6 separate regions of the Homo sapiens genome follow, and all the other regions are linked to region 4. The links are contacts of gene promoters, found by promoter capture Hi-C in blood cells and fetal thymus (Javierre and others, 2016). All regions are on one chromosome and are shown on one strand. The core of a region is centred on a gene start or on the middle of the fragment in contact, and the rest is flanking DNA. Distances in the headings are between cores, read along the strand shown. Region 1 has its middle 67 kb from the start of TMEM130. Region 2 overlaps TMEM130 (transmembrane protein 130). Region 3 has its middle 5.2 kb from the start of LMTK2. Region 4 holds the start of BAIAP2L1 (BAR/IMD domain containing adaptor protein 2 like 1). Region 5 has its middle 130 kb from the start of TMEM130. Region 6 has its middle 97 kb from the start of NPTX2.

What was found. The method cuts DNA at HindIII sites, captures the fragments that hold promoters and counts their contacts. A CHiCAGO score of 5 or more calls a contact.
Region 1: a contact is called between a fragment that was not itself captured here and the fragment with the promoter of BAIAP2L1 in region 4, in 4 of 17 cell types (M1 macrophages, M0 macrophages, naive B cells and 1 more). The highest score is 6.8, in M1 macrophages.
Region 2: a contact is called between a fragment that was not itself captured here and the fragment with the promoter of BAIAP2L1 in region 4, in 2 of 17 cell types (M1 macrophages and M0 macrophages). The highest score is 5.7, in M1 macrophages.
Region 3: a contact is called between a fragment that was not itself captured here and the fragment with the promoter of BAIAP2L1 in region 4, in 1 of 17 cell types (non-activated CD4 T cells). The highest score is 5.3, in non-activated CD4 T cells.
Region 5: a fragment that was not itself captured here is called in contact with the fragment with the promoter of BAIAP2L1 in region 4 in 4 of 17 cell types (M1 macrophages, M2 macrophages, M0 macrophages and 1 more); the score reaches 9.1 in M1 macrophages.
Region 6: a contact is called between a fragment that was not itself captured here and the fragment with the promoter of BAIAP2L1 in region 4, in 1 of 17 cell types (M2 macrophages). The highest score is 5.0, in M2 macrophages.

Annotation. Positions count from the first base shown.
Region 1 is chr7:98,801,772-98,805,024 of GRCh38, reverse strand. No RefSeq gene overlaps it. Among named protein-coding and RNA genes, the nearest start is that of TMEM130, 67 kb to the left of the region's middle. RefSeq lists a silencer at 1,950-1,999. The HindIII fragment of the contact is 5,045 bases long and covers 1-3,253 here.
Region 2 is chr7:98,853,770-98,856,848 of GRCh38, reverse strand. It overlaps TMEM130 (transmembrane protein 130), which reads left to right. Exons shown (of 8, transcript NM_152913.3): 4 at 666-832; 5 at 1,525-1,609. Among named protein-coding and RNA genes, the nearest start is that of TMEM130, 15 kb to the left of the region's middle. RefSeq lists an enhancer at 3,050-3,079. The HindIII fragment of the contact is 3,239 bases long and covers 1-2,931 here.
Region 3 is chr7:98,099,985-98,103,415 of GRCh38, reverse strand. No RefSeq gene overlaps it. Among named protein-coding and RNA genes, the nearest start is that of LMTK2, 5.2 kb to the left of the region's middle. The HindIII fragment of the contact is 7,442 bases long and covers 1-3,431 here.
Region 4 is chr7:98,399,809-98,402,925 of GRCh38, reverse strand. BAIAP2L1 (BAR/IMD domain containing adaptor protein 2 like 1) reads left to right here and starts at 1,836. Exons shown (of 14, transcript NM_018842.5): 1 at 1,836-2,124. The coding sequence starts at 2,074. RefSeq lists a silencer at 1,503-2,162. The HindIII fragment of the contact is 3,647 bases long and covers 1,014-3,117 here.
Region 5 is chr7:98,742,556-98,745,722 of GRCh38, reverse strand. No RefSeq gene overlaps it. Among named protein-coding and RNA genes, the nearest start is that of TMEM130, 130 kb to the left of the region's middle. The HindIII fragment of the contact is 1,129 bases long and covers 1,215-2,343 here.
Region 6 is chr7:98,712,356-98,715,724 of GRCh38, reverse strand. No RefSeq gene overlaps it. Among named protein-coding and RNA genes, the nearest start is that of NPTX2, 97 kb to the right of the region's middle. The HindIII fragment of the contact is 617 bases long and covers 1,567-2,183 here.

The DNA of each region.
Region 1 (3,253 bases), core at 79-2,578, 400 kb before region 4:
TATTCCTTAGTATTTAATTTCATGAGCAGTGGAGAGATTAGTTTAAAAATGTCCACAAATTCACAGAAATACTGGACGAAATGGAAGACGGCATTAATGAAATCAGCTCATCTTTTTTGTTTTTTTTTTGAGGTGGAGTCTTGTTCTGTCGCCCAGGCTGGAGTGCAGTGGCGCTATCTAGGCTCACTGCAAGCTCTGCCTCTCAGGTTCAAGCAATTCTCCTGCCTCAGCCTCCTGACTAGCTGGGACTACAGGCGCCCGCCACCATGCCCAGCTAATTTTTTGTATTTTTAGTAGAGACGGGGTTTCACCGTGTTAGCCAGCATGGTCTCAATCTCCTGACCTCGTGATCCGCCCGCCTCAGCCTCCCAAAGTGCTGGGATTACAGGCGTGAGCCACCGTGCCCGGCCGAAATCAGCTCATCTTTTTAGCTCATTTGTAATTCCATGTGGCTCAGACTCATGTGACTTTGAAGACCAGCTGGTGCTGGGGCCCAGACCTGTGGGATGGGTCTGTGGCAGAGGGGAGGAGGGGGGCTTGCGCCTCCCAAGAAGATTCTGATTCCAGGACCCCAGCATTGGAATGAATGGGTCCCCCAGGCCCAGGGGTGGCCTCCACAGCTCCAGGGAAGAGCTACTGAAGCCACTGAGTTCTTGACAGATGTGGCTCTGGGTTTATTAATTCCTCCATCAAAGACCACAACCCCCAGCCACGAGGGTGAGCAGGTTAGAATCCACTCTCCTTCCAACCATCTCCCAGTGAGTGGCGCTTTGTTCTTCTTGCTTGGGATGTTGGAAGACCAGTGTTAACTATGCTACCAGGGGAGCAGCATGTCATGTTCAGAGACATTGTCATATCTCGGCAATATGAATGTTTCATCCAACTTTTTGTTGCTTGCTAGCAAGCCAGCATGAAGGACCAGCTGCATGGCTCTATCTTAAAGTGAGGACACAGCTGCCCCTGTCCCCAGTTTTCATGGCCCTCGCTCCTTCCCCAACTCCAGACCTCAGGAATTGCGTGGCGGAGAGAAGGGGTTGGCCTGGGATCACTGAGGCAGCATCGTCTCCAGCAGCTGCCCCCATGCCGGATCTGTGAGGGCAGGCATCAGGGCTTCCCCAAGATGACTCCACCACCTGTCCTGTGCTCAGTGGAAGAGTGGCCAATGAGGCTGTTCGGCAATCTCAAAATATCCTCAGTTCAGAGCCCAGTTTTCCCTTCTGTGTGGCCTTTGCAAGGCACCTTGTCTCCCAAAGGCTGTTTTCTATTGTACAAAATGGGACCGCTTAGGACATGATATCTGCCTCCGAGGACTGTTTGAGGGCTGAATGAGGTATGTGCAGCAGGTAATGGAGACCGGAGCCCAGAATATGGCCCAGCTTGAGTGTGATCAGTGAAGACGTCAGGGTGACATGCACTGACAGTCCCTCATCTCTGGTTCCTGGCTTGCATGTCTGCAGACAGCAGCTACAGTTTGGCAATGTAGGCAAGAAGGATGGGTCTCCCTGGGGTATAGCCTCTCAATTTATTTTCTTTCTTCCTTCCTTCCTTCCTTCCTTCCTTTCTTTCTTTTCTTTCTTTCTTTCTTTCTTTCTTTCTTTCTTTCTTTCTTTCTTTCTTTCTTTCTTTCTTTCTTTCCTTCCTTCTCTTTTCTTACTCTTTTTTTCGTTTTTCTTTTTTTTGAGATGGAGTCTCACTTTGTTGCCCAGGCTGGAGTGCAGTGGCATGATCTCAGCTCACTGCAACCTCCACCTCCCGGGTTCAAGCGATTCTCATGTCTCACCCTCCCAAGTAGCTGGGATTACAGGCATGCACCACCATACCCAACCAAATTTTTTGTATTTTTTTTTTTGAGACAGTTTTCACCATTTTGGCCAGGCTGGTCTCGAACTCCTGACCTCAAGTGATCCGCCCGCCTCGGCCTCCCAAAGTGCTGGAATTACAGGCATGAACCACTGCACCTGGCTGAGCCTCTCAATTTTCAAGGAAAGTCAGACTCTGTGCAGAAGGGAACCCCACAGGATGTGGTAACGAAGTTTGCATGGGCTAGCCTGGGAACCTGACTGTTTGCATGAGCTAGCCTGGGAACCTGACTGTCCACATGCTGTGAAACCAGCAACTCACTCAATCTGCAAGAAGACCTGGGGGTGGGATTGTTCTCTGCTGGGCTCAGGCCACATCAGGGGCTCTTATCCAACCTTGCCTGCCCAGCCAATGGATGACAGTGAGCTGGGAGGAAGCTCATTGACTAGGAAAGGGTCTCCACCTCTTGCCTTCCTGGCCTCCATATGGACCCACTGTGTGACCCTGACCAAGTCCCCAAATCTCCCTTGAGTGCTGGGATGAATAAAGCTGTGCTGGGTGGCCTCCCAGGCTGCAGCCCAGATCCAGAGGCTCCATGATCTCCCACTATCACCAAAAGGTAACATCTGTGGGGCCCAGCTTGGGGCTCTGGTCTCCTGGGAAGTTTGGTCTTTTGGGTTCAGGAACTGACTCCAAAGACCAAACTTGGTTTGGCTCAAATTTGGCTGCTTAGCAGGGGAGATCCCTTGGCTCTTGTGGTCTGGGCTTGGCAGCCCTAAGCTGTTCCCCGAGCCATGTCATTACTCTCACTTCCTCCTCCCCTTTCCTCCCACCCCACCCCCATTCTACTCCCTCCCTGCCACCCACACACTCCCCTCTCTTAATGAGTCCCAGGGAGATGCTGCCTGCCTTACATCACCTTCCCCGTTGGCAGAAGAGAGGCCCCGAGAGCCCCTGGCATGCTTGGCTCTGCTAAGCGCGGCCCTGACTCAGGGTTTCCATGGTAATAGCACTCGCAACAACAGCCTTGGCTTGTTTCCAGGGCAGATGACAACCATGACAGCCAGTCAGACTGCGTCCAGCTGTGCCTGCAGCCAGAGGGGACAGGGATGCTGAGTAGGGGTGGCTCTCCTGCCCCTCTCTCTAGAGCCCGCCCAGGTTCTACCCTGGACTATCCTACTTGCCTGGACAAGGACAAGCTCAGCATGGATGTTAGGATGCAGGAGGAGCCCTGGATGGGGACCCAGGACCTAGGAACAGGCCAGGCCATATGGTTGTCTTGCTGTGCAAATTGGGCAGGACTGTGCCTTCTGTGGGCCTCTACTATACTAGAAGGCTGGGCTAGACCATGGAGCTTCAGGGCTGTCTGATTCTCCCAGGAGAAGATTCTTGGTATTGGGGGATAGTTTCCCCTCATTGCAGGGGCCAGCATTGTCCCTGCCTGGAGCCTTTC
Region 2 (3,079 bases), core at 63-2,562, 450 kb before region 4:
CCATTTACTTGAAAAATCTGGATGGCAGCTTTGTCCAACAGAACCCTCGGCTTGGCTGGCACAGTGGCTCATGCCTATAATCCCAGCACTTTAGGAGGCTGAGGTCAGAGGATCACTTGAGCGCAGGAGTTCAAGACCAGCCTGGGCAACATAGTAAGACCTTGTCTCTACAAAAAATCATGTATTAGCCTGGCACAGTGGTACACGCCTGTGATCCCTGCTACTTGGGAGGCTGACACAGGTGGACTGCTCAAGCCCAGGAATTCAAGGCTGCAGTGAGCCATGATTGTGCCACTGGGTGACAGAGTGAGACCCTGTCTCAAAAAACAAAAACAACAAAAACAAAAAATTTTTGACAAAAAATTCTTCTGTCTTCACCACGTGGGGCTGTTGAGCCCTTGAACTTTGGCTAATGTGAGAAATTTGTAATTTTCCTGAATTTTAGGCCTTCTCTGGCCTCGGTTTGCTCATCTGGAAAATGGGCCAGCTGACCTGGAGCCCTGGCTGGCTCTAGGCTGTGATGACAGGTGTGCTCACTGGTAGCTGGGAGTATCACTGTACAGCCTCCCCTGACTCTGGCAAGTCCCATGAATCACTTCTGAGTTACAGGAAGGGGAAGCAACCGTCTGCTGTCTTCCTCCTCTCTCCTCCCTGTCTCCTAACAGGACCCAGATGGTGACTGAAGACTCCGTGGTCTATTATAACTATTCCATCATCGGGACCTTCACCGTGAAGCTCAAAGTGGTGGCGGAGTGGGAAGAGGTGGAGCCGGATGCCACGAGGGCTGTGAAGCAGAAGACCGGGGACTTCTCCGCCTCGCTGAAGCTGCAGGGTGGGTGTCCAGGCAGGCTGATGCAGTCTGGGCGTTCCAGAGTGGGGTCACCGTACGCACAGATCACAGTGGCTCTGGGCTGGACTCACGCCCTGTCTTCTGGAGCCCCACAGACCTCTGAGGAGCGTCTATCATTAACCCTGCTTCAGACAGAGCGCTGCAGGCCACGGATGGGATCATGTGGCTGTGCAGTGGCTGAGCGGCCCTTGTGCCCCGGGCTGCCTGCTCCCAGAGCCTGAGCCGGTGACCAGGTGTCTGCTGTGAATTGGCCAGTCCATGCCATTCCCTGTTCCCCGGCCCCATCGGCCTCCCACCGAGGCTCACCCTGGGGTGGGAGGGTCTCTATCTCTCCCTGGCTTTGGTGAGAGGGAGCCCTTGGGCAGCTGCAGAAGATGTCTTGGTTCTTGCTGACGGGATGGTGCTCTCCTGTGTGACACAGACGATGACTTGGCAATGGGCAGGACAATTGTGTGTTTGCCTGCCTTTCCTACTTTCCTCCCTCTGAGCAGGCTTCAGCACCTGCCACTGACAGGGGAGGGCAGGACCCAGAGGAACCCCGCACAGACCTGTGGCCTGCTCTTAGGAGAGGGACGGAGGGGAGGACAGGGTGGCAGTCGCACCACCCTGTGCCCTGGGAGCCTCGACAGCAATCCTTAGCCACCAGGTCTAACGGGGTTCTCTCTGCCTTACAGAAACCCTTCGAGGCATCCAAGTGTTGGGGCCCACCCTAATTCAGACCTTCCAAAAGATGACCGTGACCTTGAACTTCCTGGGGAGGTAAGTGAGCTCCAGAGCGCACTGGGGGTGCCCCGTGGGCTCTGCACATCCCCCTTCACGATGACCCCAAGTCTGTTCTGCTCTGTGACAGGCCTCAGGTCTGGGACCTCATGGAAGGGCAGTGCCACTTTGTCTTGAGGCTGGGCCATGGGGAGAGCATGGGCTCAGCTCCAGTATTTTATTTTATTATTTATTTATTTATTTGAGACGGAGTCTCGCTCTTTCGCCCAGGCTGGAGTGCAGTGGCGCAATCTTGGCTCACTGCGACCTCTGCCTCCCTGGTTCAAGCGATTATCCTGACTCAGCCTCCCGACTAGCTGGGATTACAGGTGCACTCCACGATGCCCGGCTAATTTTTGTATTTTTAGTAGAGATGGGGTTTCACCATGTTGCCCAGGCTGGTCTCCAACTCCTGACCTCAAGTGATCCATCCGCCTTGGCCTCCTAAAGTGCTGAGATTACAGGTGTGAGCCACTGCGTCTGGCCTTTATTTGCATTTTTTAGAGACAGAGTTTCACCCTGTCACCCAGGTTGGAGTGCAGTGGCACCATCACAGCTCAATGTAGCCTTGACCTCCTGGGCTTAAATGATTCTCCTGCCTCAGCCTCCTGGGTGGCTGGAACTACAGGTGGGCACCACCATGCCTGGCCAATTTTTAATTTTTGTAGAGATGGGTTCTCACTATGTTGCTCAAGCTAGTCTCAGTCTCCTGAGCTCAAGTGATCCTCCCAGCTTGGCCTCCCCAAGTGCTGGGATTACAGGCATGAGCCACCACACCTAGCCCTCAGCTCAATTCTTGAGGTCCCAGGGAGGGAGGACCTGCCTTTTGGGGCTGTATTCACCATGGGCATGGAGACAAAGGTTGGGAGGGATCCCTCCTGTTGAGAAGCCCTCTGTGTATGACGTGGCCTATTTTCCAGCCCCCAGATCTTTGCCCATGTGGTTCTTTCAGGGTTCTCTTCTCTCCCTTCACATGTCCAGATGTTTCTTATTCTTCTAAGCCCCTTGGAATGCCTGCCTTCAAAAGCCTTTTCTGAGGCCGGGTGCTGTGACTCATGCCTGTAATTCGAGCTACTCGGGAGGCTGAGGCAGGGGAATTGCTTGAACCTGGGAGATGGAGGTTGCAGTGAGCCGAGATCCCGCCATTGCACTCCAGCCTGGGCGACAGAGCAAGACTCTGTCCAAAAAAAAAAAAAACAAAAAAAAACCAAAAAACAAAAAAAGCAAATCTGTTCTGCCCTCCAGTCTGCACAGGGGAGCTTGCACCAGCAGGCAAAAGTTGCTTGAGCATCTGCTTTGGACAAGATGCTATTCTGGAAGCTTCTAGACCAGAGTAGACAAGATTTCCAAGGATTCTGTGTGCAGGGTGGGGCACCCCGCATGACACGGAAGCAGATCATTCCAGGGGATTCTCATCAGTCAGTCTAATCAAGGCAGCCTGACCCAGGCTCCTGGCAAGAACAGCATCAG
Region 3 (3,431 bases), core at 879-3,378, 300 kb after region 4:
AGCGCCATCCTCTTGGTGCTGTTCTTGTGATGGCGAGTGATCTTTGACGAGATCTAGTTGTTTAAAAAGTGTGTAGCACCTCCTCCCTCTCTCTCTCTACTGTTCCCACCGTGTGAGATGCCTCGCTCCTCCTTTGCGTACTGCCATCATAGTAAGTTTTCTGAAGCCTTTCAGAAGCCAAGCAGATTCTAGCATCATGCTTCCTGTACAACTTGCAGAACCATATGCCAATTAAACCTCTTTTCTTTATACATTACCCAATCTTAGGTATTCCTTATAGCAATGCAAGAATGGACTGATACTTGAAGAATGGAAGGCAAGAAGAGCACTAGCAAAATTGTCCACATAAACTTCTTCAGAACTCTAGGAATTTGCCAGAGGTTTGCAATATCATGAGTCAATTTGTTAAAGAAAAATGGCTGAGGCCAGGTGTGGTGGCTCACGCCCGTAATACGAACACTTTGGGAGGCTGAGGTAGGAGGATCACCTGAGCCTGGGAGTTTGAGAGCAGCCTGGGTAACATAGTGAGACCCCAATCTCTACTAAAAATAAATAATTAGCCAGGCACAGTGGCACATGCCTGTAGTCCCAGCACTTTGGCAGGCTGAGATGGGAGGATTGCTTCAGCCCAGAAATTTGAGGCTGCAGTGAACTGTGATTCCACCACTGCACTCCAGCCTGTGCTACATAGTGAAACCCTGTCTCTTAAAATAAAGAAAAGGAAAATGGCCAAATCTCATAAGAATAATGAGCTTCATGAAATTTTTACTTGCCCTATTTCCATTCTTCTCTCCCCACCTCTGTGATAGCCTTGAAAACCAGCAACTTCACCACCATGGGAACTGTGGAAATAAGCAGGCTAGCAGCTACCAGAGGGGGCAGAATAGGTTTGGAGCTCCCCCAAAACCTGTATCCCCAAAGAACTGTGACTATCTGACCTGTCTGGCAGCTCCTTAGAAAGGCACTATTTTCAGGGCTTTTCTTCATTTGATATGACTCAGAAATGCCTCAGTGAAAATAGTCCTATCCTGTTTGTTGAAAATAATCAGTGACAACTGTTTAACATTGCAATTGCCTGAGCCAGTGATACCAGTTGGCTGATGAGAAACTTAAAAGAAAAATCTAGGGAATAATATGTCATTGGGAGCTTTGAAAAGATCCACCATATTATTGGAAATCTAGAAAGCCATGTGCATGTACAAGGCTATGAACATGGCTAGGAAATACATGAGAAGGCCCTCGTTTCTCATTCCTAGTTGATCATGAGGCTGTGCAAGCACAGTAAGGACTGGGGCAGAATTTTAAACTGCCAGAGCATCAGATGCATGCTCCAACACACATACAGAGACTCTTAGCAAAACCAGGGAGACATATTGGCTCAAATAATTTAAGGAGGCCAGGCACAGTGGCACACGCCTGTAATCCCAGCACTTTGGTAGGCCAAGTTGGGCAGATCGCCTGAGGTCAGGAGTTTGAGACCAGCCTGGCCAATATAGTGAAACCCTGTCTCTACTAAAAATACAAAAATTAGCTGGGCATGGTGGCACGCGCCTGTAATCCCAGCTACTCGGGAGGCTGAGGCAGGAGAATCACTTGGACCCAGGAGGCAGAGGTGGCAGTGAGCCGAGATCACACCACTGCACTCCAGCCTGGATGACAAGAGCAAAACTCTATATCAAAAAAAAAAAAAAAAAAAAAAAAAAAGAATTTAAGGATATCTCTGTAGTCATTAGCTGACCACTAAGCTAACTAAACAGAGACTTTGGTGGCCATTCACAAATTTTTCAAAATACAGAATTAGACCAGGAAAGGCCCTTTAAAAATGAATGATGGCAGCAACAGCAATAACAAACAGCACCAACAATGCAAACCCTGTGGAAGGGGAATATCAGGGAAAACCTATTCCAGAGTTTCCACATTATGCAATTTTAAATGTCCAGTTTTCGAAAAATTGTTACAAGACAGAAAAAGAAACAAGAAAATATGCTTCATACACAGGATGAAAAATTAGACAACAAAAACTTTCCCTGAGGATTCTGTATTAGTCCATTTTCATGCTGCTCATAAAGACATACTCACCAAGACTGGGCAATTTACAAAAGAAAGAGATTTAATGGCCGGGTGGAGCGGTCATGCCTGTAACCCCAGGCCTTTGGGAGGCCGAGGCAGGCGGATCACGAGGTCAGGAGATCAAGGAGACTATCCTGGCTAACACAGTGAAACCCCGTCTCTACTAAAAATACAAAAACAAAATTAGCCGGGCATGGTGGCAGGCGCCTGTAGTCCCAGCTACTTGGGAGGCTGAGGTGAGAGAATGGTGTGAACCCGGCAGGCAGAGCTTGCAGTGAGCCAAGGTGGCACCACTGCACTCCAGCCTGGGAGACAGAGCAAGAATCTGTCTCAAAAAAAAAAAAAAAAAAAGATATTTAATTGGACTTACAGTTCCACATGGCTGGGGAAGTCTCACAATCATGGCAGAAGGCAAGGAGGAGCAAGTGCTGTCTTACATGGATGGCGGCAGGCAAAGAGGGAATGAGGAAGACACAAAAGTGGAACCCCCTGATAAAACCATCAGATCTTGTGAGACTTATTCACTACCACAAGAACAGTATGGGGGAAACCACCCCCATGATTCAATTATCCCCCACCAGGTCCCTCCCACAATGCATGGGAAGTACAATTCAAGATGAGATTTGAGTGGGGACACAGAGCCAAGCCATATCAGATGCTGAGAAGTTGGACTTAATAGACAAAGACTTTAAATTATAATTATTACAATTAAATAATAATAATTATTATAAATATGTCTAAAGAATTAACGGTTGATTGAAAAACAATAAAGAAGACCTCAATAAATGGAAAGACATCCCATGTTCCTGGATCAAAAGACAATATTGTTAAGGCAATACTCTCCAAATTGATCTATAGATCTAATGTGATTCCCATCCATTCCCTCTGGATTCTTTTCAGAAATTGAGAAGCTGATCCTAAGATTCATATGGAAATTTAAGGGCCCCAGAATAGTCAAAACAATCTTGGGCAGGGTTCAGGAGACAAAGTTGGAAGATTCACATTTTCTGACTTCAAAATATATTCCAAAACTATAGTAATCAAAACAGTGTGGCACTGACATTATACATCAAACAATATAATTAGGGGTCTACAAATAAATCTTAAGATTGACAGTCAATTGATTTTCAACCAGGGTATAGGACAATTCAATGGAAAAGAATAGTTTCTTAACAAATGCTGTGAGACAGTGGATATCCACATGCTAAAGAATGATGATGATCGGCCCCTACCTAATGTCATGTACAAAAATTAACTAAAAATAGATCAAGAACCTAATGCAAAAGCTAAAACTATGAAAATCTTACAAGAAAATGTAGGCATAGATCCTTATTACTTTGGATTAGGTTTGTTTCAGAGAT
Region 4 (3,117 bases), core at 587-3,086:
GGCATGAGCCATCCTGCCTGGCCCCCAGATAGAAGCTTTTTGTTTGTTTGTTTTTGAGACAGAGTTTCGCTCTTGTCCCTCAGGCTGGAGTGCAGTGGTGCTATCTCAGCTCACTGCAATCTCTGCCTCCCAGGTTTAAGCAATTCTCCTGCCTCAGCCTCCCGAGTAGCTGAGATTACAGGTGCACGTGCTACCATGCCTGGCTAATTTTTGTATTTTTAGTAGAGACGGGGGCAGGGCGGTTTCACCATGTTGGCTAGGCTGGTCTCGAACTCCTGACCTCAAGTGATCCGCCTGCCTTGGCCTCCCAAAGTGCTAGGATTACAGGCATGAGCCACCAAGCCCAGAGGTTTTAAAAAATCAGAATAAGACCTCTGCCCTTGTTGGGTGCGGGTCTCAGGTAGCTAAATGGTGGTTCTTACTGGGGAGAAGGCTGTCACCCAGCCCAAGGTACATAATCCTGGAAGAGAGGCCCAAAGAAGGCAGCTGCCTCACCCTTGGGCAGGGCTGAGGCCGGGATGGAGACAAAATAGGGAGCCCAGGAGCCACACACCTCCACAGAGTTTGAGTGATGACAAGAAGAGAGGCTTCCCTAACACTTCAGCTCAGGTGGTTTTCTAAACCCTACAACAATCTCGTGAGTAGCATGGTTACACTGCATTGAGTTAAAGGTCGTTGTTAATGTAAAGTTTAAAAATGTACTACTGGGCCGGGCGCGGTGGTTCAAGCCTGTAATCCCAGCACTTTGGGAGGCTGAGCAGGGCGGATCACCTGAGGTTAGGAGCTCGGGACCAACCTGGCCAACATGGTGAAACCCCGTCTCTACTAAAAATACAAAAAAATTAGCCTGGCTTGGTGGCACGTGCACCTGTAATCTCAGCTACTCGAGAGGCTGAGGCAGGAGAATTGCTTAAACCTGGGGGGCAGAGATTGCAGCAAGCTGAGAGAGCACCACTGCACTCCAGCCTGAGGGGACAAGAGTGAAACTCTGTCTCAAAAACAAACAAAAAGCTTCTATCTGGGGGCCAGGCAGGATGGCTCATGCCAGGCAGGAGAATCGCTTGAACCTGGGAAGCGGAGGTTGCAGCAAGCTGAGATCGCACCACTGCACTCCAGCCTAGGCGACAGAGTGAGACTCCATCTCAAAAAAAAAAAAGTACTAACATTTCGGTAACTAGACCCTGGCATTTATTAATTTTTTGATATATCAGGAGCTTTCAAAACTGCAAGTGGCAGCCCGTTTTCTCCACCTAGGAGGGCCGATGCCCCCACGGGTCCCTCTAACTTTTGGGGTCAGTGAGCGGCGGGGCAAGAAGAGATCAATCAGGGAAATCAATACAACTGGGGAATGTGGCCCCTTCCCTTGGTCCCCAAAACGCAGGGCTTGAAGGAAGCCCTCATGGAGGAAGTGGGCCTCGGGGTCCCCGGGGCCAGCACCACGCGAGGCAAACAAGGGCTCCAGGACCACAGTCTAAACACCCCCAGGCTGCCCTTGCCCTAGCAAAACAGCAAAGCGAGCAGCCCACTCCACACCGGTCCCCACTCCAGGGTCTCGGGCCCTACGTCGCCGGAGCTCTGGGAGAGCCGCGAGGGGGCGCACCGTGGCCTCGCTGCCCTGTCCGCCACAGGTGGGGTGACCCCGCCCACTCGGGGGGCCCGCTTCCCTCTGGCCACGCCCATTCCAGCTGCCTGGCCCCGCCTCCTCCCCGCCCACCCCGGCCGGGCCCCGCTCACCAGGCCGCCTCAGGTGGGTACGCCACGCCCCTCCGGCCCTGCGGCCCCGCCCCCGTCTGCCCCGCCCGCCTCAGGTGGGGCCGCCCGGCCCGCCCAGCTTCCTCTGGCGGCGTCCGGCCGCTTCTCCTCTGCTCCTCGAAGAAGGCCAGGGCGGCGCTGCCGCAAGTTTTGACATTTTCGCAGCGGAGACGCGCGCGGGCACTCTCGGGCCGACGGCTGCGGCGGCGGCCGACCCTCCAGAGCCCCTTAGTCGCGCCCCGGCCCTCCCGCTGCCCGGAGTCCGGCGGCCACGAGGCCCAGCCGCGTCCTCCCGCGCTTGCTCGCCCGGCGGCCGCAGCCATGTCCCGGGGGCCCGAGGAGGTGAACCGGCTCACGGAGAGCACCTACCGGGTAAGCCCAGGGCCCGGGGCTCAGGGAGGTCAGGGCTTTCCACCTCGGGGTTCAGAAGGGGACTTTACGCGGGAAGGTACTTTCCCTCCCTCCAGCTCCCCTCCCCCGCGTCCTTCCACCTCTCCCGGTCTCTCCCACTCCTCCCCTGGCCCTCCACAGCCCCTCTTCTTCCTCCCCTGGCCCTCTCCTTCCTCCCAGTCCCTCCCCATCCCCTCCCCCCTACTTTTCCTCCTCCTTCCCTCCCCTCCTCCCTGTGCTTCTTCCCTGTCTCTCTTTCCCGCCCCGCTGTACCTCTCCCTCTGCCCCTCCGCTCCCCGTTCACTCTCCCTCCTCCCCTGCCCCTCGACACTGTCCCTCCCCTCCTCCTGGTTCTTCCTTCTCCCCCGTGTGTCTCCCCCTCCTCCCCTGTCCCTTCTTCTCCCCAGTCTATCCCCCTCCCTCCCCCTCCCCCTCCCCCTCCTCTTGGTTCTTCCTCCTTCCCCGTGTGTCTCCCCCTCCTCTCCTGGCCCTTCTCCGCCTCCCCTGTCCCTTCTCCTCCCCGTCCCTTCTCCTCTTCCCTGACCCTCAGAGCTCTGGAGACCACCCCCCATCCCCTGACCAGCTACACATTTTACAACTAGTGCACTTAAGTTGGGGAGGGGTCTGTTGTGCGTCGGTGGGGCCCACGTCCTCCTCCCAACTTCTTGGAATCAGTGACCCGTGCTGTCCTGGCTGCCGGGCTTAAGCCCTCCGGGACCAAAGACACAAGCTCGAGTTTCCTCTAAGAAAAGAAAGCGCCCAAGAATGTGGGGGTGAAACTCCCCTGTAATTAGGATCGCCAGGTGAGCCGAGCTCTGGGCGTTCTCCCGGGAAACGCCCTCCTCCTTAGACCCTTCCTCTCCCACCTTTCAGTTGAACTTGGCTTTTATATATGGGTTATTTGGTGAGGTTCTTGAAGTCAAAGAACAACCGAGGTTTTAATGAAATTGACCTAACCTTAAGGAATGCGTTGAT
Region 5 (3,167 bases), core at 530-3,029, 340 kb before region 4:
TGACAAAAATGCACTGTGAAACCCCGCCGGTGAGAACAGAGCTTCTCCACCTCCGCCATTGTTCTCCTGAACTTCTTTAATTCTTCGTTTTAAAATATTTATGAAAGGAGTGTTTCTAGACCCAAAATGTAGTTTTAGACCTGAATGGTCTAAATGGTAGAATGTGTCACTGTATCGCCAACAGCGATTAGAATTCATGAAGCCCACAGGATGACTCTCCCTGCAGCTGATCCGCCTTTTCAGGGTCATTATTAAGGAACTGGTTTCGGGGAGGGAGGGAGGTCCTGTTTCTCTTTCCTGCATGGCTTGGACTCCTGACAAGGACACACGGACAATTCCCTTTTATTACATCTGAGCCACCTCCAGTTTTCCACAGTTCTGCGATCATTAAAATAACATGGAAGGCCAGGCGTGGTGGCTCACACCTGTCATCCCGGCACTTTGGGAGGCCGAGGATGGCGGATCACCTGACATCAGGAGTTCGAGACCAGCCTGGCCAACATGGCAAAACCCTGCTTCCACTAAAAATACAAAATTAGGCAGGGCATGGTGGCTCACACCTGTCATCCCAGTACCTTGGGAGGCTGAGGCAGGCAGATCACGAGATCAGGAGTTCAAGACCATCCTGGCCAACATGGTGAAACCCCGTCTCTACTAAAAATACAAAAATTAGTTGGGCGCGGTGGCGGGCACCTGTATTCCCAGCTACTCAGGAGGCTGAGGTAGGACAATCACTTGAACCCGGGAGGCAGCGGTTGCAGTGAGCCAAGATTGGGCCACTGCACTCCAGCCTGGGCAACAGAGCAAGACTCCTTCCCAAGAGAAAAAAAATAAGTGATATAGAAGACTAATGATACCCCAAAATCACCACGTAGGAAAATTAGCTTTCTCATTGTTTGAAGACAATCTTCAGAGTGTTTCCTTGTCAGGGCAGAGCAGCCTTAAACCCTCGGTTGGGTTTCCTTTCATCCTGATTCATCTGCCTAATTCTTGGGAGGATTCCACTTTGAAAATGTAATTGACCATAGGCGAAACAAAGGCCATTGATGGCTTTGCGAGAGAGCATGTGTATACGGTATTTGATGGGCTAATTTTACCGTGTTTTAATTACAACCCTGGATAGCATAATAAATTTGTGTTCAATTAGGCTGAAGTCATCAACTGCTGAATACATTATACATTTTGTTAAATCAGCACAACTGATGTTATAAGCTTCACTGTAATATCAAGCAAAGATGCTGTTGTCAGATGAACTTAGCCTCCCAATCCCTATTCAAACATGTATGCATAGACATAGAATTGGTTAAATAAAGAAATAACAACTTTATCATCAATATGAATGTGGACATAAAATCCAAGCATGAAGCGTAGAGCAAAGTCCACAAGAGATCTGTAATGCTCTCTGCCTGCACGGCTGTAAGCTACAGAAATAGGGTGGTCATTCAGGCAAAACTCACTCTCCTGCTGAACAGGAGGAAGCAGAAAGGTTCAGGCTTGATCACCACAACTTTGACCCATAGCTGCAGCAGATATTTTGAATGAAGTGCAGATTAAATATTCTAGCTTTTGGGCAGGGCGCGGTGGCTCACGCCTGTAATCCCAACACGCTGGGAGGCCAAGGCAGGTGGATCACGAGGTCAGGAGATGAAGACCATCCTGGCTAATACGGTGAAACCCCGTCTCTACTAAAAATACAAAAAATTAGCCAGGCATGGTGGTGGGCGCCTGTAGTCCCAGCTACTTGGGAGGCTGAGGCAGGAGAATGGTGTGAACCTGGGAGGTGGAGCTTGCGGTGAGCCGAGATCACGCTGCTGCAGTCCATCCTGGGCGACAGAACAAGACTATCTCAAGAAAAAAAAAAATTCTAGCTTTTTTTTTTTGTTGTTGTTGTTCTAGCTGGAAAAATAAACCAAAATGGTGATTAAGAACTGGAGTGGACATCACTAGTGTTCACCAGTATCCCATTCTCCTCTCCTTCCTAGCACAAGGATGCCACATCCTTGACAGTAGGCCAGTCTGTGCAACTAGATCTGGCCAATGATATATAGTATAAGAAGTGTCATTAAAAACAGCAAAAAACAGACAAAAGAAGTGGCATATGTCCCTTTTGTGCCAAGGCACTGAACAGATGTCTCAATTCTCCAGTCTCTCTTCTTCCCTTGTCTTGATGATTGAGAAGGCTTCCATAAGCCTGGATCCCTGAGTGACTGTGTGGAGGAAAGCATATCCAGCCTTTCCTCCTGGCCCTGTCTGCACATGCTGGATATACACGATGAGCGAGAAAGAAATCATTGTTGTATTAAGTCACTGAGATGTTGGAGTTATTTGTTAATGCACAAAGCTTCTCTTAATGACTAATATAAGAATTAAAAAATCATTGAGGCTGGGCACGATAGGCTCATGCTTGTAATCTCAGCACTTTGGGAAGCTGAGGTGGGAGGATTGCTTGAGCCCAGGAGTTCAAAACTAGCCTGGGCAACATAGTGAGATCCCGTCTCTACAAAAAGTAAAAAAAGAAAATTAGCCAGGTGTGGTGGTACACACCTGTAGTCCCAGCTACTCTGGAGGATGAGGTGAGAGGATCGCTTGAGACCAGGAGGTTGAGGCCACAGTGATCTGTGAGCATGTCACGGCACTAACAGAGTGAGACCTTGTCTAAAAAAAATAATTGAAATATGATAAAATATGGTAAAACCCAAAAAGAACATCAGCTTGGGCCATCAATTTATTGTGTCTCTGATGAGAGAGCTTTAATGAAGCCAAGACAGTCTCTTGGAGGGCTTGGGGTCATTATTTTGGTCATTAATGGTTAATGTACACTAATATGCCACTGTGTCTTTGTCTCTTGGCACCTGGGCCATAGTTTTGACCTGACCTTCCTAGGTCCTATGTTTATAAAATATACCTAGAACTTCATTCATTCATTCGTTCATTCATATATTCTAAGCATCAGGGTATGTTAGGGACTGTACCAGGAGCTGAAGGGGGAGTTATTGGGAGTTCATCACGTGGTAGGCACGGTGCCACAATATTTCACGCATTATCAGGCTTAATGCTCACCCCACTACACGTGGCAGGAGGCATACTCATCTGCATTTTAGGGAATTGGAGGAAGGAAGGAACTTGTTCAAGGTGCACCTCCAGGGAGCTGCCAAAGCAGAATCTGA
Region 6 (3,369 bases), core at 626-3,125, 310 kb before region 4:
TTGCCACACCGACTTCCACAATGGTTGAACTAGTTTACAGTCCCACCAACAGTGTAAAAGTGTTCCTATTTCTCCACATCCTCTCCAGCACCTGTTGTTTCCAGATTTTTTAATGATCGCCATTCTAACTGGTGTGAGATGGTATCTCATTGTGGTTTTGATTTGCATTTCTCTGCATTTAATCTAATCGGGAAAGTCTGAAGACCTGTCAGGTTCAGGCGGGGTTTTCGGCAAGACCACTTCATGGATGATGGTGTGTCCTCCCTTGGGGACATATTATGTCTGATGGTCCCTTTCTTAGATCATATCACTGCTGAATTTGCAATATGATGACACCCTAAATCTGTGATTTCTCCTGTGTTTATGAGCTGAAAGAATTCTGCAAAGAGAGAATGCTCCCAACATTTATTCAAAAAAGGCAGGATGAATGTTCCATCTCACAGTCTGTCCCTTTTTTTTTTTCTTTACAAACCAGTTTTCAAAATCATGAGTTGTTTCAAGCCATTGCAATTGTTATTCTTTATCGATACTCAGATTTTCCTCTCTAAAACAAGGCAGGCTTTTGGCCAGGCATGGTGGCTTACACCTGTGATCCCAGCAGTTTGGGAGGCTGAGGCAGGTGATCACTAGAGGTCAGGAGTTCGAGAACAGCCTGGCCAATATGGTGAAACCCCATCTCTACTAAAAATACAAAATTAGACGAGTGTGGTGGCGAACACCTGTAGTCCCACCTACTCTAGAGGCTGAGGCAGGAGAATTGCTTGAACCCGGGAGGTAGAGTTTGCAGTGAGCCAAGATCGTGCCACAGCACTCCAGCCTGGGTGACAGAGTGAGATTTCATCTCAAAAGAAAAAAAAAAGAAGGCAGGTTTTTCATGAGGATCTTGAAAAAGGCACCAACCAAAGGCACTGGCCAGGATGCATTTAGTGGAAAAACCCCTTGATACTGGGTTTCCATTCTTCACAAGAAGTATTCACTTTTTTTTTTTTTTGAGACAGGGTCTTGCTCTGTCACCCAGGCTGGATCACCCAGGTGATCATAGCTCACTGCAGCCTCGAAAACCGAGGTTCAATCAATCCTCCCACCCCAGCCTCCAGGGTAGCTGGGATCACGGGCACACACCACCATGCCCAGCTAATTTTTTAATTTTTTTATGGAGATGGGGTCTTGCTATGTTGCCCAGGCTGGTCTTGAACTCCTGGGCTGAAACGATCCTCCCACCTCAGCCTCCCAAATCACTGGGATTACAGGCATGAGCCACCACACCCGGCCAGATGTAATACTTGAAACGTCAGCCTGACCTAACTAATTATTAATGTGTTAAACACCCTCAAGGGAGAATTCGGAAAGGCTGTTATACCTCGAATGGTTGATCCTAGTTTTGAATCAGCCTCAGAGTAAAGCAACTCACTTTTTATACTATAATTACCCTGCTGTGTGAAATTCAGTAATTTGCATGAATAACTTTCTAACAAGAAAAAGGAGTGGGGATTGTATGATTTTAAAAGCCATGTTAGTTTATTACACGCTAAGCTTGAATGGTGTATATTCTATGTATGCTAAGCTTGTTCCAGAAAAGCCGTGATGCTCTAGTTTAAAAGCCAGTTGACTGGTTCTTCCTTAAACTGCCACACAAAACTGTGCTTGGATTTGGTATTCAAATGATATCTTTGTAGTGAAAATGATCACTAACGTAATATGTAACTCTAACATGAAACCTGATTTTATTGCGTTACAGTTCTGATTTTATTAGAACTGGATCATTTTGCCAAAACGGTATACTTTGGTGAAAGGGTCCAAACGTCTCTGTAATTCGAAATGCTGTATTATGGGCTGGTTCTGTTATTTTTGTAATTCGATTCTAAGTAGAACACAAAAGTCATTTCCTGAATTTTGAAATACTATAAATTTAAACTGAGAAACAGCTGTTCATATCTTTAATGCATTCTCTTTGCCATCTGACAAAATCGTGCCTCAGTAATTGCTATAACACTGATCATTTAATTTAAATACAGTACTTAACCACATTTTCCTTTTTGAAATAGGTGGGACCGCATGAAATCTTTCTTTGTACATGATATGACTAATTTCCTGCCTTGATTTGAAACAGAAATCCCAGCTATTAATAATCTGGTGACATGGAAAATAAATCTCTAGCCACTAAGTGAAATTGCCCTAAAGCTTTTCTTATGGGAAATTCTTCCTTTTGATGTCCAAGGGTCAGGTGGATTCTACAAGATATAACCTACTAAAAAGCATTTCGTTTCACAGCAGAACACCATTTGCTATTAAACTGTATTTCTGACACAATTATTTCTGTAATTTTGATGTGGTATCTAGAGTATTTTGCTAAAAGGAAATTATCCCTTTCCTTTAATTTGCAATGCTTAATGTAAGCAATAAACTTCTACTCCAGTTTATTATGGGATGGCTAATGGGTGCTCTGAGCCACTAAGACGGATGATCACTCAACTCTGTGAAAATTAGTCTTTTCCTGCTTAAAATATTGTTTGGTTTGACTTTTTTAAGACGTTTGAAAAAGAAGCTCAAATCGACTAAGGCTTGTGATTCTTTTTTGTAACTGTTATGACATTTCAGCTAGATGCAAAATTCCTACTTGGTTACAGTTGATGTAAGATTGTCTGGTTGATGTTCTCTGTGCTAAGCTTGTTCCAGAAAAGGTGTGATGCTCTAATGGCAGTATATTTCTAAAACTTCCTGTATTGTGTTGAATTCTCAAACGTGGTAAGCGGCAAATTGCATATATACTTTTTATTTTGAAACACAGTCAACTTTTCTTCTTCTTCTTCTTCTTTTTTTTTTTTTTTTTTTTTTGAGATGGAGTCTCGCTCTGTCGCCCAGGCTGGAGTGCAGTGGCATGATCTCGGCTCACTGCAACCTCCGCCTCCCAGGTTCAAGTGATTCTTCTGCTCTCAGCCTCCCGAGTAGCTGGGAATACAAGTGTGTGCCACCAAGCCCAACTAATTTTTATATTTTTAGTGGAGACGGGGTTTCACCATATTGGCCGGGCTGGTCTGGAACTCCTGACCTCGTTATCTGCCTGCCTCAGCCTCCCAAAGCGCTGGGATTACAGGCGTGAGCCACCGCACCTCGCCCAACTTTTCTTCTTATAAGGACCCCAGTTAATGAATTCTTTCAAACTTAATCACCTCTTTAAAACCCTGTATTCAAATACGGGCACTTTCTAAGAGTGCTGAGGGTTACGACTTCAACATATGAATTTTAGGGGAACAGAATTCAGCCCACATCACCGATGGTCAACCTCATGTTGTATATATAGCCCCAAGTGGTTCTGCTGGTGGGATCCAGTGCTGACTAACACAACAGCACCTTTTTTGTGTCTTTTTG